Linked DNA regions of Homo sapiens: all the other regions are linked to region 2. The links are contacts of gene promoters, found by promoter capture Hi-C in human tissues and cell types (Jung and others, 2019). All regions are on one chromosome and are shown on one strand. The core of a region is centred on a gene start or on the middle of the fragment in contact, and the rest is flanking DNA. Distances in the headings are between cores, read along the strand shown.

Region 1 (3,695 bases), core at 871-3,370, 2.0 Mb after region 2:
GGAGCCCCGGTGAGGGACAGCACAGATTCTGGAACCAGGCAGCCTGGGTTTGAATCATCACTAGGCCACATACTCGCTGTATGGCCTTGGGCAAGTCATTTCACCTCTCTGGGCCTGTTTCCCTATATATACAATGGTAATAATAATAATGCCCTCCTCATTGAATTGTTTGGACGATTAATTGGGCTAGTATATGCACAGGTCCTGGCACATAGTAAAAACTTGATAAGCTTTTTAAAAAAATGTCCATTCCAGGCTGGGCGCAGTGGCTTACGCCTGTAATCCCAGCACTTTGGGAGGCCGAGGCAGGAGGATCTTGTGCCCAGTAGTTCCAAGACCAATTTGACAACATGGTGAAACCCCATCTCTGCTAAAAACAGAAAAATTAGCGGGGTGTGGTGGTACACGCCTCTACATAGTTCCAGCTACTCAGGAGGCTGAGGTGTGGGAGGATGTCTTGAACCCGGGAGGTCGAGATTGCAGTCAGCCAAGATCGTGCCACTGCACTTCAGCCTGGGCAACAGAGACTCTGTCAAAAAAGAACGAGGAGGAGGAGGGGAAGGGGGAGAGAGAGAGGGAGACGGGTGATAAGGAACTGGCATGGGCAACAGCCATGGCAAACAGCCTGGGCAAAGGCCAGGAGGTGAGACACAGTATGTTTGTAGACCTGGCTTACAGGATGAGGACCAGGCTGGGGCTCAGTGTACATGGAAAGAGAGGAGAGGAGGAGCCAAGGCCAGAAGAGTCTTGAAGAAAAGCTTTGAGTGCCAAATAAAGCAGGGGAACTTTATCCTGGGAGACATGGGAGATTTTCCAGCAGATCCCCCCCGACCCCCATTTGTTGGAGCCCTCCAGTGCATCCTGCACGGCTACGCCTTTTTGTTTTGTTTTGCAGCTCTGTCGCCCAGGCCGGAGTGCAGTGGCGCCAGCTCGGCTCTCTGCAGCCTCAATCCCCTGGGCTCAAGGGATCCTCCCACCTCAGCCTCCTGAGTAGCTAGGACCATAGGCGCGCGCCACCACGCCCAGTTCATTTTTAAAAATTTTATTGTAGAGATGGGGTTGCCATGTTGGCCAGGCTGGTCTCAAACTCCTGGGCTCAAGTGATCCGCCCGCCTTGGCCTCGCAAAGTGCTGGGATTACAGGCGTGAGGCCCCGCGCCCGGCAACGCCTTTGCTGACTGCTTCAAAACTTTTTTGAATTGACTGTAGTCATTATCTATAGCTTAGCCTTAGCCTTGCGCCCGTTCGTTTCCTGGAGTTTTCTTCCAGAGTCCCCGTAGGAGGTGCCCCCACGCCCATCTCCAGCACCAAGGAGGCTCGACGCCAACCCCAGCGCGCCCCCACGCTCGCCGTCACCGGGACGTGACTCGTGAAACGTCCGCTCCGGGCGGCGGCGGCAGCGGCGGCAGGCTGGCTTGTACCCCGACAACGCGCGTCTGGCTTCTGCCGGACGTTCCTATCTGGGTTCAGAACTGGGGCCGGGTGCTGCAGGTCCCGCAGTCTGAGAAGTTTTCGCGGGTTTCAGAAGTTTCCTTAGGCGTTCTAAGGGCTTTACTCAGGTGGAGTCTCCATTCAGGCACTTATTTAACCACCCATTTCTCCTTTAGGGGTCCTCGCTGCTCGCCCAGCCGCTAATTAAGTGACGGACACAGTAGCTAAGGAGACTGCCTGATTGACACGCATGATTACCAACCGACTTCCGGAAACTCCAGTCAGGGCCTGCCCGGCGCGTGGCCCACGGCCCAATTAAAGAAGTGGAAGCGCCAAAGGGGGAGGTAACGGAGCGGCCTACGTTGTGGCGGTTCCCTGGTGAATGCGCCCTGGGGTTGAGGCGTCTGCGGGCGTTCGGACGATGCCGTGACGCGGCACGGCGACACTGTTGGCAATATGAGCGCACCCCTGTAGAGGGAGCCCTTCGGTCCTGGAGGCGGCGCGGCGTGAAGACAGGTTGCTATTTGAGAGCGTTCCCTTGAAGCCCCTCAGAGAGTGGGGGAGGGGCGGCGGACGGCAAGCGGTTCCTGTCTGCGCTTGCGCCGGCGCCTCTGCCGACCCGGCCTGCACGCACGCGCATGCCCGTAGCGCGCGGAGCCGCGGTGGCCGGCAGCACTGCGCGTGCGCGGTGAGGAGCCCGCTAAGGAGCGGCGCTGGCGGACGTCGGGCTGGCTGCCCGTGACGTCGTGCGGAGAGCTTTAAAGTGCGGGCCGGGCCGGGCGTCCGAGGGTCTGGTCGGGAGTCGGGCCGCGTCTCCGCAGCAGCCCTCCGCGGCATGAGGCGCTGCCGGCGCCCCTGCCCCGCGGGACGTGGAGAAGGTGGAGGAGGAAGAAGCCCCGTTGTCGCCACCGTTGCATGACCCGCCGCTCCTGAGGCCCTACCCCACGCCCGGACCCTCGACGCCCCCCGCCGGGTCCCCCACTCACGCATGGGGGTTCGGCGCTAAGGACCCCCCTCCCTCCGGGGGCCCCGGGGCGCGTCCCCTTAGAGCCATGCCCGGCTGCCCCGCCCGCCCCGGAGGACCCTAGAGCAGCGTCGTGGGGGCCATGGCGGCCGCCAGCGGCTACACGGACCTGCGTGAGAAGCTCAAGTCCATGACGTCCCGGGACAACTATAAGGCGGGCAGCCGGGAGGCCGCCGCCGCTGCCGCAGCCGCCGTAGCCGCCGCAGCCGCAGCCGCCGCTGCCGCCGAACCTTACCCTGTGTCCGGGGCCAAGCGCAAGTATCAGGAGGACTCGGACCCCGAGCGCAGCGACTATGAGGAGCAGCAGCTGCAGAAGGAGGAGGAGGCGCGCAAGGTGAAGAGCGGCATCCGCCAGATGCGCCTCTTCAGCCAGGACGAGTGCGCCAAGATCGAGGCCCGCATTGACGAGGTGGTGTCCCGCGCTGAGAAGGGCCTGTACAACGAGCACACGGTGGACCGGGCCCCACTGCGCAACAAGTACTTCTTCGGCGAAGGCTACACTTACGGCGCCCAGCTGCAGAAGCGCGGGCCCGGCCAGGAGCGCCTCTACCCGCCGGGCGACGTGGACGAGATCCCCGAGTGGGTGCACCAGCTGGTGATCCAAAAGCTGGTGGAGCACCGCGTCATCCCCGAGGGCTTCGTCAACAGCGCCGTCATCAACGACTACCAGCCCGGCGGCTGCATCGTGTCTCACGTGGACCCCATCCACATCTTCGAGCGCCCCATCGTGTCCGTGTCCTTCTTTAGCGACTCTGCGCTGTGCTTCGGCTGCAAGTTCCAGTTCAAGCCTATTCGGGTGTCGGAACCAGTGCTTTCCCTGCCGGTGCGCAGGGGAAGCGTGACTGTGCTCAGGTAACCCACCCGGGTGGAGGGGGCGGCCCTGCGCCTGCTGCCTTAGCTACCCACCCTGGCCCAGAAAGCAGCAGCCCGTAGGAGTCTGCGTTTTTTACAGTTCTGACCAGTTCTTCTGTTTGTAGATTGTAGGGAGCGAGAGAAGGGTTTTGTGTTTAAGATACCTATAGCAAGAAAATAGGGAACCGATGTGGAAATCCTGTCCCCGAAGGCAGGTTTGACGGGATCACTGACTTGGCTGAGAATTCATCGAAAGCCATCTTTTCAGAAGGCTGTTCCCTTTGATTTTTTTTTTTCCCACCATCCATTTCTTAGCATAAGTCCCTTTGTGATTTTCCGGTTTTCCATTCTGGCCTTCCATTTACAAATCTATGCTTTAAAATTTTTTT
Region 2 (3,762 bases), core at 770-3,269:
AATCAGCGAAGGGCCTATCCTGCTCTCAAGAGATAAAATAGGTACATAAATACCTACAAGATAGAAAGTGTAAATGCCGCGAGAGATGTGCAGAAAAAGCATTACAGGAGCCCAGAGGGAGCTGTTACCACCTCACAGAAATATAACCCCTTCAATCTGTTTAAAACAATTTTATAACTATTAACTCCCTTTAGGCTCACAACAGCCAACCCTAGGAGAGTAGATGTTTACCTAATATTCAAGATGAGGAAACTGAAGCACAGAAAGGTTGATCAAGTTCCAAAATCACATAGTTAGAGCAAGAATCAAGATACTTTGTATTATATTTTCTCCGGGGGAGTAGTTCAACATATGGCAAGCCTTTTGTAAAAGGAAAGAGTATTTTAGTATTGTAAGTAATCAGTTCCTACTGTGAGCATTTTATACATAGCTATATCCATATATACAATTAATCTTGATTTCCATTAACAGGTGTGCTTAAAGCAAGGCCAAGCAACTGGGTACTATAAATATTAAAACAAATAAATAAACTTCCACCGGATGTTAACAGAAAAAGAAAAAAAGATACAAGATTTCTCTCTCCAGTAACTTGCGGTTACTTCTTCTGTAATTGTTACCCTTGTCTAAATAACATTCTAAAATTGGTCTGCTCCTGAGCCCGGGCAAGTACAAGTTGGTTCATCCAATAAATATCTTCATGAAAAGGTACATCAAAACATTTTAAAAAGCTATTAAAAATTAAACGATGCCATCAACTCTTCAGTTATCCACAGGACAATCACATGTGACCCAGCATCAGCAGCTATTGATCAAGATATATTGAACGAATGAATGAATCTTTGTAGGCATTTTTAAATCCCGGGCCTGTTGCTCCTTGCACAGTGCCATGTTCAGCCTTCCATCACTGCCTCACCAGGGTGCACACAAGGAATGTAAATTTCAATATAATTAGGATATAATTAGAGAAGCAAATCTGATGCAGGTTTACATACTAATCCCAAAGATTAGAATTACCTATACTACTACTCTCCAAGGTTAACTCTGTGGAAGAGGCACCGCAGCATGCAACATCACATAAAGAAAACTGACACTTCCTGAGCAAATAGTTTTCGTCCATATCACTTATTCCCATCCATTCCTTTAATACATGACTATTCCTGATCCAGTTAATTTGAAGAATTCAGTCTCCTCTCCATAAAGGCTGATTTCACAACTACAGTTTCTCAAATTCCTCTCTCCCCAAAAAGGGGTGCACTTACGGACTTCGCTTAAGAAAACACCAACAATAAACGGCAGAAGGTATAGTGTTCGGATCTTTGCCATCTCCACCAGTACCCAGCCTTCGCCATTACACCCTGAAGCGGTCTGTTAGAAAGGTGAACTAATTTACTCTGCACGCACTTGTCCATGGCTGTCAACCTCCGCAGCCCCTTCTACACTTCCAAGTCGGCCACCAACTCCGCCTCAGTGAGCCCAGGCCCGCCACCTGCGCCGGCCCCACCCGGGGCACCGGCTGCCCGCTCTCCCTCGCAGGCCCTGTAGGCTCCGCACGCCCCTCCGCACAGGACACCTCGGGGCCAGCCCCGGCCCGGCCACAGCCCATTCTTCCTCCAAACTCCATAAGCCTCCGCTAGCCCAGCCCGAGCTCCCCGCCGCGCCCGGCTCTCTCCTGGGCTGCCGAGTGGAAGAGGCCAGGCGGCCAGGACGGGTCCCGACCTGCCCAGGCCTGCGACACCCCCCGCCCGGCGGAGAAACCGTCCCAGCGGCTGCTGCCCCGGGAGCCCTCGGAAGCCCCCGGACTAGCAGGAGCCCGGAGGCCGGGGTTGCAGGCGCCAGGGCCTACTCACCGGGAGCTGGCTAAGCGTGGGAGCCGACGTGCGCCCCGGCCTGAGGAGTGGGACGCGGCCACGGCGCGCGGCCCTACACCGGGACCTCGTTCGGCGCGGCGAGTCGGACGCTCACTCCAGCCGCCGCCGCCGCCGCGGCTGCTGCTTCGCCACCTTGGCCGCCATCTTGACTCAACCCCTCTCCCTCCCCCCAGCCCGCGGAGCCGCGGCTAAGGCGGCTCCAGCGCCGGCTCCTCCTCCTTCCGGAGAGTTGGGAGACCAACTCCCTCCGCTGGCCGGGCGCCTCTCCTACCTCGGCGGAGCTTCCCGGGTCGCGCTGCGCCCGGTCTCTTCATGTCTCCTCTAGGCCTGGCAGCGGCGGTCCTCTCGGACGGATACGGGGCCGAGCAGCGCCCAGCCGGATCCAGCGCTGCTGCCATCGTGCCCTGGGCTTGTGCGCCCCCCGCCTGCCCGTCTGTTCCGCGCGCCCGAGGCCTTCCTCAGGCGTGGGAAAAGGAAAAACTCCAGGCCGTGGAAGGGACCCTGCAAACCCCTCCGCGGCGTGGTGGGGCGGCGGCGGCCTCCTCTGGCCGGAGCTGCGTACAGGGAAGCCGGTCCCCTCGTGGCTGGGAGCTGGAGGGGTGCATTTCGACCTGCCCAAGATACTTTCTAGGGCTCTGGCTGGAATTCGCACCAAGCCCTCACTGAAATGCTGGGCGAGGCCGATTTGTCCACGATGTTGCTCCTTAACCTTAAGTTACTTGCAAGAGGAGCCTGTGGCCCTCGCGACTGTTAAGTGCACGCTCAGCCTCACCCTGCTGGGGAAACGACGGTTCCTCGTAACCGCACGCATACGTTCCTTTAGAAAAGCCAGGCCCGACCGGACGCAGTGGGTCACGCTTGTAATCCCAGCACTTAGGGAGGCCGAGGCGGGCCATCACTTAAGGTCAGGAGTTCGAGACCAGCCTGACGAACATGGAGAAACCCCGTCACTACTAAAAATACAAAAATTAAGCGGGCGTGGTGGCGCGCGCCAGTAATCCCAGCTACTGGGGAGACCGAAGTGGGAGAATTGCTTGAACGCGGGAGGCTGAGGTAGCAGCGAACCTAGGTCGCGCCACTGCACTCCAGCCTGGGCGACGGAGCCAGACCGTTTCAAAAAAAAAAAAGAAAGGGCCGGGCGCGGTGGCTCAGGCCTGTAATCCCAGCACTTTGGGAGGCCGAGGCGAGCGGATCACGAAGTCAGGAGTTCGAGACCAGCCTAGTTAACATGGTGAAACCCCCTCTCTACTAAAAATACAAAAATTAGCTGGGCGTGGTGGCGCGCGCCTATAGTCCCAGCTACTCGGGAGGCTGAGGCAGAAGAGTCGCTTGAACCCGGGAGACAGAGGTTGCAGTGAGCCGAGATCGCTCCACTGCACTCCAGCCTGGGCGACAGAGCCTCTCAAAAAAAAAAAAAAAGGTAAAGAAAGCCATCCAAAAGTGAGAAGGAATAACAAAGTTGGTGTAACTGGCTATTTTGGAAAACTGTCATACGGATAACGGGCTGTCTAACCCTATAATTACGAGAAAGGCCCGAGTTTTAAGAAATGAATTCGAAAATGAAGAGGAAGGAACTCTTCCTATAAGTGGGAGCTTATATATAAGACGCTTCCTTTTAAACCGATTGTACAGTGTGGTAGGACTAGGGTAGGAAACTGGACGGCATGGAGACTTCTGTGTTAAAACACAAGAGAACCCTTAACGTTAAAACCTCAAGCTTCCGGAGCATGTCGGCGGGAGGGACTTAACAGCGGAACCCAACATTCCCCGGTGAAGTTTTCCAGCCGGAGTCAGGGTCAGAGGCAGCCTTTCCTACTGCGCAGGCTCAGTGCTGCTTACCCATCATGGAAGCAATGTGGCTCCTGTGTGTGGCGTTGGCGGTCTTGGCATGGGG
Region 3 (3,464 bases), core at 3-2,502, 1.0 Mb after region 2:
CAGCAAGCAGGAGTAAGATGAGTCAGGCCCCTCCATCATCCACCACAAACGCTTTTAAACGGACTGTGAGCCGATGAGTAGCATTTACTGCATGGGTTAATTCCAGAGTATAAATTTGCCCTTGGAGGCCGGGCGTGGTGGCTCACGCCTGTAATCCCAGCACTTTGGGAGGCCGAGGTGGGCAGATCACAAGGTCAGGAGATCAAGACCATCCTGGCTAGCACGGTGAAACCCCATCTCTACTAAAAATACAAAAAAATTAGCCGGGCGTGGTAGAGGGTGCCTGTAGTCCCAGCTACTCGGGAGGCTGAGGCAGAAGAATGGTGTGAACCTGAGAGGTGGAGCTTGCAGTGAGACAAGATTGTGCCACTGCACTCCAGCCTGGGCAACAGAGCGAAACTCCGTCTCAAAAGAAAAAAAAAAATTTGCCCCTGGCAAATGCATACACCTCATACTAGCCTCACGAAACTGGAATAAGCCTTTGAAAGAAGTTTGTCCTTAAGGTTTGTATCTGATATCAGCACTGGATTGTAAAACTTGTTGCTGATTTTGACCTTGTATTCAAGTTAACTGTTCTCCTTGGTATTTGTGTAATGCCCTATACATCTTTGATTTCAACCCTTAGTACGTGTGGCTTGGTCACTTCGTGGCTGAGGTAAGAACTGGCTTGTGGAAGACAGGTCAGTGGTTTGGTGAGTCTGTGTGGCCAGCAGTCTCCGATCTGTGCAGTGTATTAATGTGTCAGGGCAGAGTGTTCTGCTGTAGAGCCTGGTAAGGGCTCCTGAACCAATTGTTTCTGTCTTGCCGGTCTATCAGGGTTGGAAAAGTCCAAGCCATAGGACCAAGTTTCCTCTCTTAGCTGATGTTTTCATGCCAGAACACCATGAGCTGCTACTTGTCTTGAGTTGGAAGCAGTTCGTATTTCCACCTGTAAATGTATTCATCCCTTTAATTTATGTAGGGTTTTCTTGTACTCAATTCTCAATTCTTTGAGATGACAACACATTTTGTTTTTTTACTGTTATGTGAGAACATCAGGCCCCAGCAACACGTCATTGTGTAAGGAAAAATAAAAGTACTGCTGTAAAAGAAACAAAAAAAATCGGCTGGGTGCGGTGGCTTAACGCCTGTGAGCCCAGCACTTTGGGAGGCCAAGGTGGGTGGATTGCTTGAGGTCAGGAGTTTGAGCCTGGCCAGGCCAACATGGCAAAACCCTGTCTCTAGTAAAATGCAAAAGTTAGCTAGACGTGGTGGTGGGTGCCTGTAATCCCAGCTACTAGGGAGGCTGAGGCAGGAGAATTGCTTAAACCAGGAGGTGGAGGTTGCAGTGAGCTGAGATCACACCACTTCACTCCACCCTGGGCTACAGAGGAGACTCCATCTCAAAAAAAAAAATTCAGGAGTCTCACTGAGGTAGTAGCTACAGTGAGCAGATACCACCCCTTAAGGGTTGGGGAACAAAGGGAAAAGATTGGGACGAATAGAATTTAAAATTCTGAAGGAGGGCACAGTGGGAAGATGGGGGAGGCCTGCCTCCTGGGCCCCTTTATCTCTAAGGGGCTGTGCTGAGGCTGATTCTAGGAGCATGGGGGAAACTGCACACTGGAAGCAGACTTGCCTGGACCATGCTGCTCAACAGAGGCAGATGCAGGGAGCCTGTCACTTTCTCCCCCGAGCTCTAATCCCCTTCTTGCTGGTTTGCAGAGGTCTAGCCCAAGAATCACAAAGCAGAACACAGAACAGGGGATTCAAAGCTGAAACGATTGTGACCAGCTCTCCCCTCAAACAGACTCAGGGTTTGCAGGTACTAGGACAAGGTTCTAAATAACATATCCCCTTTCAGTTCAAGTTTCCAAAAAATGCAGTTATTTTAATGAATCCACCTTGGGTAAAAAATTATAATAGCATCCACATCATTAGCAGCTCACAGTACTTTTCACTTATATAGTCACGACTGACAAGTACTAGCAGTTCACAGACACATTCTAAGTGATTTTGATTTCAGATCCAGATAATGAGAAGCTAATTGTTTTTTAAAAATAAAACAGGGTCTATAATTCATTACACAGATAAATGATCATTTCCCATTAAATATTTTGTTTCCTAAGTGCAGGTATACGTAAACAAGTGAAAGGGATGCAACCCACAAATAGTCCTAATTCAAGGGCTAGAGAATTTGACAGTTTAGTTGATAGGTCAGCAAACTATAGGCTTCAGGTCAGACCTAGCCTGCTGCCTACCTTTTTTTTTTTTTTTTTTTTTTGAGATGGAGTTTTGCTGTTGTCGCCCAGGCTGGAGTGCAATGGCATGATCTTGGCTCACCACAACCTCCACCTCCCGGGTTCAAGCGATTCTCCTGTCTCAGCCTCCTGAGTAGCTGAGATTACAGGCGCCTGCCACCACACCCAGCTAATGTTTGTATTTTTAGTAGAGACTGTTTCACCATGTTGGTCATGCTGGTCTCAAACTCCTGACCTCAGGTGATCCACCCGCCTTGGCCTCCCAAAGTGCTGGGATTACAGGCATGAGCCACCATGCCTGGCCACTGCCTACTTTTTATAAATAAAGTTTTACTACTAAAATGGCCACAGTTACAATAGGCCATATGACCTCCAAAGCCTAAGTGTGGACTCTATTAGGGTAACTTTTTATGTGACTCATGAGGTTTCTTTTCTTTTCTTTTTTTTTTAATAGAGTCTTGCTCTTGTCACCCAGGCTGGATTGCAGTGGCATGATCTTGGCTCACTGCAACCTCCACCTCCCGGGTTCAAGCGATTCTCCTGCCTCAGCCTCCTGAGTAGCTGAAATTACGGGCACCCACCACCATGCCCGGCTCATTTTTTGTATTTTTAGTAGAGATGGTGTTTCACCATATTGCCCAGGCTGGTCTCAAACTACTGACCCAGGTGATCACCTGCCTTGGCCTCCCAAAGTGCTGGGATTACAGGCGTAAGCCACTGCACACAGCTGAGGTTTCTTTTTTAAATAATGAAAATGTGCCTTACCAGACAACTTGAAACATTTTAAAAACTGAATGTTTGTAGTGAGAGAGATTTTTTTAAGGAACAAATTTGATGTGTTTTAACCTGACCACACTTTATTCTGCTCCACACCATTCCAGGGCTAAATCAGTAAATCCTAGTCCAAATTCCTGTGACAGGAGAGGCCCTGAACATAATCAAAATGCAACTATCAGTTTACCTGATATGCTTTGACAAGAAAAAGTGGGAAAGCCTGCCATTTGTCTCTTAAAAACTGTAAGTTGAGAGGGGGAGAAAAGCCATTTTCAAGACTACAAAAGTGTAGCACCCACTAAAGGTTGGAAAGTGCTTTTGACACCACCTGGACAACATGGCAAAACCCCATCTCTACAAAAAAAAAAAAAAAAAAAAAAGGCTGGCTGTGGTGGTGCTCGCCTGTAGTCCCAGCTACTTAGGAAGCTGAGGTAGGAGAATCAGCTGAGC

Evidence for each region. Contacts are between HindIII fragments. The study calls those that stand out against the background at their distance.
Region 1: the fragment with the promoter of ALKBH5 here is called in contact with the fragment with the promoter of NCOR1 in region 2 in 1 of the 25 tissues and cell types used here (dorsolateral prefrontal cortex).
Region 3: a fragment that was not itself captured here is called in contact with the fragment with the promoter of NCOR1 in region 2 in 1 of the 25 tissues and cell types used here (bladder).

Annotation. Positions count from the first base shown.
Region 1 is chr17:18,181,708-18,185,402 of GRCh38, forward strand. ALKBH5 (alkB homolog 5, RNA demethylase) reads left to right here and starts at 2,121. Exons shown (of 4, transcript NM_017758.4): 1 at 2,121-3,306. The coding sequence starts at 2,537. RefSeq lists silencers at 1-82, 2,219-2,518, 2,599-2,688, 2,847-2,998 and enhancers at 1,509-1,708, 1,769-2,008, 2,116-2,953. The HindIII fragment of the contact is 6,004 bases long and covers 495-3,695 here.
Region 2 is chr17:16,213,515-16,217,276 of GRCh38, forward strand. NCOR1 (nuclear receptor corepressor 1) reads right to left here and starts at 2,020. Exons shown (of 46, transcript NM_006311.4): 1 at 1,848-2,020. It overlaps PIGL (phosphatidylinositol glycan anchor biosynthesis class L), which reads left to right and starts at 3,696. Exons shown (of 7, transcript NM_004278.4): 1 at 3,696-3,762. The coding sequence starts at 3,713. RefSeq lists enhancers at 816-1,732, 1,733-2,648, 2,226-2,285, 3,472-3,721 and a silencer at 1,486-1,955. The HindIII fragment of the contact is 13,683 bases long and covers 1,574-3,762 here.
Region 3 is chr17:17,242,834-17,246,297 of GRCh38, forward strand. It overlaps the pseudogene ACTG1P24. Among named protein-coding and RNA genes, the nearest start is that of FLCN, 7.4 kb to the left of the region's middle. The HindIII fragment of the contact is 7,478 bases long and covers 1-3,464 here.